2 separate regions of the Homo sapiens genome follow, and region 1 is linked to region 2. The links are contacts of gene promoters, found by promoter capture Hi-C in blood cells and fetal thymus (Javierre and others, 2016). All regions are on one chromosome and are shown on one strand. Each heading gives the region's core, a stretch centred on a gene start or on the middle of the fragment in contact. The rest is flanking DNA. Distances are from core to core; before and after follow the strand shown.

Region 1 (2,727 bases), core at 12-2,511, 840 kb before region 2:
TTTAGAGTGCTCTAAAGCAATCATTGTAACTATACTTAGCTGAGGATGTAAAGGAATGCCACTATTGATAAAGAGGTCTGTTCCTGGGATCCAGGGTGAGGCTATTCTAGGATGGCCCTGAAAATCTTGAGGATGACCAATGTGTAGGTCCGTCTCTCTTCTGTGAATCACACATCCTCAAAATAACCAGGAAGACAGCCTCAAAGGCAGTTATCCCCAAAAGATAATATTGCCCCAAACTTTTTTCTCCCTTGTCACACACATGTTCATTAGTCACCCTGGGACTCTGGACCACAGGTTTTTCCAGCTTGGGTGGACAAGCCAACGTGCAGCAAAGCTGCTCAGCCACTCTCCCAAGCAAGAACCCGAGATTCTTTGTTGTAATCAGGTGCATAAGGAAACCTGTTGGGGTCAGTGCAAAGTGTCTCTCTCCTCAAGCATCTCAAAGTTACACAGACATTTAACCAAGTCTCCTATTTCCTGTCAAAAAATCCCAACCGAGCAACCAGACGAGCACAGGTAGGTGGTGAGTGACAGATATTTGTGCAAAAATTAGATGTGGTCTCGTGAAGTCCCCACAGCCCAGGAACATTTCACTCAATCTAGTGATGTCCATGCTCACTATGTGCTGGTCTCACACCGCATCCCAGGGGAAGCGGATATAACTCCACAGAGGCTGACTTGAGAGACACGATCCAGTAAGAGGCTGGACTGCTTGATCCAGAACCCCGTAGAAATACACTGGTCCTGTCAGCAGGTCTGAGATAGACGTGTAGCCAAGTGACAAGCTCCAGTACAGCCTTAGGATTCACCAAAGTCACCCCTACTCATGTGACGTGTGAGGCAGACAGATTTGCCTTTAAGTAGCAACAAAGAATATCTGCACTCCAGATCTTGGTGGAGAATTTAGTCTCTCTGCCGCCTAACTCTTACCAAATTTTGAAACAAATGGTATCTATGGATGATTTTCCTGAAGTACATTCAGTCCAGCGATGCCTTTATAAGCATTTTCCAGAGTGGTACATTAAACAAAACACTACTCTACAAAACGTGGTACATATCCTTAAAAAAAAGTTCCTTGATCAAATTAGTTTAGGACAAAGTCTGAAAAAGTTACCCAAGTTTTCTAGTTAACTGCAGAACTGCACACAAGTGTGTGTGTGTGTGTGTGTGTATGTGCATGTGTATGTGTGTGTGTGGTGTGTATGTGTATGTGTGTGTATGTATATGTGTGCGGTGTGTGTGTTTGTGTTTGTGTGTGTGTCTGTGTGGTACATGTACCCCTTAGGGCAGGGATCTGCTGTGGTCTGAAAGTTTGTGTCTCTCCAAAATCCATACGTTGAACTCTCATCCCCAACGTGGAGGTATTAAGGAGTGGGGCTTCTGAGTGGGGACTAGGTCATGAAGGTGGAGTCCTCATGAATGACTTTGTGCCCTTTTAAAAGAGGTCTGAGCTGGGCACATTGGTTCATGCCTGTAAGCCCAAGGACACAGGAGGCTGAGGCAGGAGGACTGCTTGACGCCAGGAGTTCAAGACCAGCCTGGACAACATAGCGACATTCCCTCATCCCTAAAAACAAATAAACAAACAAGTAACCAGCCGGGTGGTGTGTGTACCTGCAGTCCCAGCTACTTGAGAGGCTGAGGCAGGAGGATGGCGTCAGCCCAAGAGTTCGAGGTTACAGTGAGCCATGATTGCACCACTGCACTCTAGCCTGGGTGACAGAGCAAGACCCTGTTCCTGAAAAAATAAAAAATAAAAATAAAAAGAGGCCTGAGGGAGCTTGTGTGTCCCTTCCGCCATGCGAAGACACCAAGAAGATGCCATCTCTGAGGAGCAGACTCTCACCAGACAGCACATCTGCTAGTGCCTTCATCTTAGACTTCTGCAGACTTCCCAATCCCCAGAACTGTGAGCAGTAAACGCTACTCTTTATAAATTACCCAGCCTAAGGTATTCTGTTATAGCAGCCTGAATAGACTAAGACAGATATTAGTCTCTTTTCTTCATTAATGTACTCCCACGTGCCTAGAATGGTGGTTCGCACATCAATATTCTTTGAATGAATAAATGAATCTTACCTGAAAATCTTTACATTCAATAAATACTGACAAAATACAATGAAGTCAAGGAGCAATATGCATTAACAAAATGCAACAGTTCATGAAAATGTGTAACTATGCGCACCAAACTCTTAACCATTCAGTCACTTAGAAAGATAATCCACATGTGTATGGCTTAAAAACAACAGCAAGAACAGCCCTGAAGCTACAACAGGATTCCTTCAACAAATGCAGCATTTAGTGAGAATTTATGGAACTGAGCAAACCTGAGCAATCATAAGCCTGCAGCCACCACAACAAATACAGCAACATGGAGTGGGGAGGCCCGAACACAGCACAGAGCTTTTGATATGCTAGTTTTATTATGAGTTTCCAAAGAGCAGCTTTACGATACACTACTTGCCAAATACATATAGTTCAATGGCAACTGGGGATCCATTTTCTCACAGGATAAAACTGCTCAGACTCCAGCCGATTCCATAGCTTGTAAAAGTCAGAAGTCTTGCTGCAGTTTCTGCTAATGCTCAGAAGTGAAAGCTTCATGATTCAGTATCTCTTCTCATTTGCACAGGCACAAAGCTCAGGCTCCTCGCCCGCTCCGTGCAGCATCCGATCTCTTCAAAATCTTGGATTTCACAAGGAAGAACCGCATTGCCCAGCCTT
Region 2 (3,004 bases), core at 451-2,950:
GCCACCCCACCCCAAATTCCTGTGCCCCTAGTGGGATACAGAAGTAGTAGGTTGCTCATCAACCCAAGCAGCCACATCAGCTTGGGCAGTGGAAACAACTCAGCCATATCTTTTGGGAACAGAGGACCAAATGGATGTGCTGTCCCTTCTCCCAACCCACTACATGGGACTGTGTATAGCCCTGGTGTTAGGAACTAACTCCAGGAAGGATGAAGGCTGACTCCCTTAGTCTCCAGTAGATAAGCTGCTAGGGGCAGCTACTAATATATAATAACTGAGTTATTTACGTAAAATAATGGATATGTGATGCTTCTTGCATGCCTGAGTTTCTGGGCTGAGATTTATTCTGTCTTGAATGTCGCGGTTTTCTTAATGAAGTTGCTGAGGAACGCAGGGGCCTTGTTCATTTTGCCTTTTTCTGGAAACTTTGTCCTCCAATTCCCAGATCCAGAGCAGTGCCTCTGCTCTCAGCCCCATACCGCCCACATTCTCATTAGGAAAAGCAAACAAAAGCCAAAGTCCTGTCCAGTTACAAGCCTTCTCTAAACGGGGCAGTTGGACTGTATATATTCCTGGCGCATCAATTTTACTCAGACAGGGAAAATATTTTTACATTAAAAGAAACTAGGTTAAATTATGGTAGAGAATGCAAAATTCACAGTTTAAAAATGATGAAATTCCAGACTTCAAAGGAACTTCTTTCTTGCAGGGTAGGGGGAGGGTATTCTGTTTCAGAACCCCATGCGGGTCTCCACTGGAGTTCTTTTGAGAAGGACACTTCTGTGGAAAAGTTTGAGCAGCTCTGGCCCTGCGCCTGGCCTGGCTAGGGGCCACCTTCTTCTGGTTTGGGCTGCAGCGCCCTATGGGTATCGCGTTCTTGTTAATATCTCCTCACGTTTCTAAACTCACAGCTTGTCAGCGCGGGCGCAACCTGAGAGCTGTCGCAGGTTTCCAGCTCACTCGTTTCCCAAAGGAGGAAATGGAGAATCAGCGACTTTAAAGGACTTGCCTGGCGGGCATCCACGCTTCCCAGGCTATCGCTCCTCCCTGCGTCCTTGGCCACCTCCGTTCTTTAATCCTGCAGGAACTCAGGACCCACGTGCAAATACAAAGAACCGTATCCACCCACCCCCGGCCCTTCTTCATCCTGCGCTTCCAACCTTGGGGGGGTCCTCTCTCTCCACTGGGGTATCTGACGCCCGTGGGGGGTGCTTAGAAAAGTTTGGTAGATTAGTGACTGGTGGTTCTGGAACAAATACATCACAGCCCAAACTGGGGGCTGGTGGTGGAGAGGTGGGTGGATGGGGGCTACAAATCTGCTCGGCAACTGCCCTTTCAGCCAAGAGAGAGGAGCTGAGGTCCTCTGGGGTTGGAGGACTGGAACCGGCCAGATTGCGGGCTCAAGGGGCGAAGGCAGGTTGGCAGGGGCAGCCTCTTCCCGCCGCCCACAATCCTCGGGCGGGCGCGCAGCCGAGCCGGCTCGGCTGGCTGGCGCAATCTCGCGCGCTCCTTGCATTGATCAAAAATGGGGGTTGAAACAGTAAACGCGAGGAGGAGCAACTGCTTCGACTCGGCTCAGAAGCGCGACCAATGGGGATGTGAGCTCCTTCGCGCGAACCAATTAGCGCAGGGCCTGCGACAGCACGGGCCAATGGGGCGCCGACTCGGCGCAGGAACAAGGCGGGGGTTCGGGGCCGGCTGCAGACTCTCACCGCAGCGGCCAGGAACGCCAGCCGTTCACGCGTTCGGTCCTCCTTGGCTGACTCACCGCCCTGGCCGCCGCACCATGGACGCCCCCAGGCAGGTGGTCAACTTTGGGCCTGGTCCCGCCAAGCTGCCGCACTCAGTAAGTCCCCGCGAGCGGGCGCCGGGAGTGAGGTTCAGGCGGGAGCACGCACGCGGGTGGGTTTGCATCCCTGCGTGTGGCAGTCGGATTCCCGCTCCCTGCCTTGAGTCCCCTAGGCGCTTTGCATCAGCGTGCACAGCGGGATCAGCAGCTCCGGCAAGCGGGCTTCGGGAAGAATGCAGTTGGTGAGGAAGCTCGGCGAGGCGTGCCCGTGCAGCTGCCCCTGGCCCTGACTGCTGGTGCGAGGCAGTGCACGACTCAGCTGGCCGGGGCCTGCTGTCCCGCCGGTGCCACGCACCTGCAGACGCCCGGGCTGTGCCATCTCCTGGGCCGGTCCGGGGGCTGGGGCGGGGCGAAAAAGAAAAAGCTCTGATCTCTGCCTTCGCCTCGCGCAGCTGTGCGGCGAGCCCGGGCAGTGTGGAGCGGATGCATGAATGGACATAGTGTGAATGAGTGATGAACGGGAATGAACCGATGACAGGTTTTGCATATGCAGTGGATCACGTTAGCTGAAAGGGATTGCAAACTTAAAGGTCCGCGTGTGCGTGCCCCCCTACGCCTTACACCAGTGTTTGCTTTAGCCAGCACTTAGGAACACTGCTTTTCAGAAATGTAAATTTGAAAACCTTCAGTCCAGCTTTCCCCTCCTTGTCCCCCATAGAACCTACCCTTTCCTAAAGCCTTTCTCCCCACCCCCCTCCTTTTTTTAACCTGCTTGTCCCCTAAAGGCGTTCGAGTATTCTAACTCTGGTAGACTTTGGGCTGCTTAACCCAATTCCCTGTTCATTTCGTTCTGGAGTAAACCGAGTGATTGAATTCTCTCCCGGGCCACAATCAGATCTTGCTGGTGGAACTCACTCTCTGCCTTCCCAGGCCCCAGCCCGGCTCCTCCCCTCCCCCGCCAAACCCACCGTCCCCAGCCCCACCCGCAGTGAAGAAGGCAAAGTCTCCGATGTGCCTTGAGCCCATTGTCAGGCGGCTGCCGCCGCCGTTAGATTTTTATTTTTCTAACCAGGATAGAGCTGATAATATGTTGGAGCAGCATGAGGCATAGCCAAGTATTTTACAATTATCAATTGTTGAGCAGAGTAGAAATCTCCCTGGGACAGAGCCTCCTCTGTGTTGTGGTAAGAACAGAGAATCCAATTTTAAAGGGGA

Evidence for each region. The method cuts DNA at HindIII sites, captures the fragments that hold promoters and counts their contacts. A CHiCAGO score of 5 or more calls a contact.
Region 1: a contact is called between a fragment that was not itself captured here and the fragment with the promoter of PSAT1 in region 2, in 1 of 17 cell types (naive CD4 T cells). The highest score is 5.4, in naive CD4 T cells.

What each region holds. Positions count from the first base shown.
Region 1 is chr9:77,451,398-77,454,124 of GRCh38, forward strand. The region is part of intron 2 of GNA14 (G protein subunit alpha 14); the gene reads right to left. The region is part of intron 1 of GNA14-AS1 (GNA14 antisense RNA 1); the gene reads left to right. Among named protein-coding and RNA genes, the nearest start is that of GNA14-AS1, 5.1 kb to the left of the region's middle. The HindIII fragment of the contact is 2,676 bases long and covers 1-2,599 here.
Region 2 is chr9:78,295,425-78,298,428 of GRCh38, forward strand. It overlaps PSAT1 (phosphoserine aminotransferase 1), which reads left to right and starts at 1,701. Exons shown (of 9, transcript NM_058179.4): 1 at 1,701-1,846. The coding sequence starts at 1,787. RefSeq lists enhancers at 787-1,056, 947-1,530, 1,531-2,114 and a silencer at 2,067-2,306. The HindIII fragment of the contact is 4,911 bases long and covers 1-3,004 here.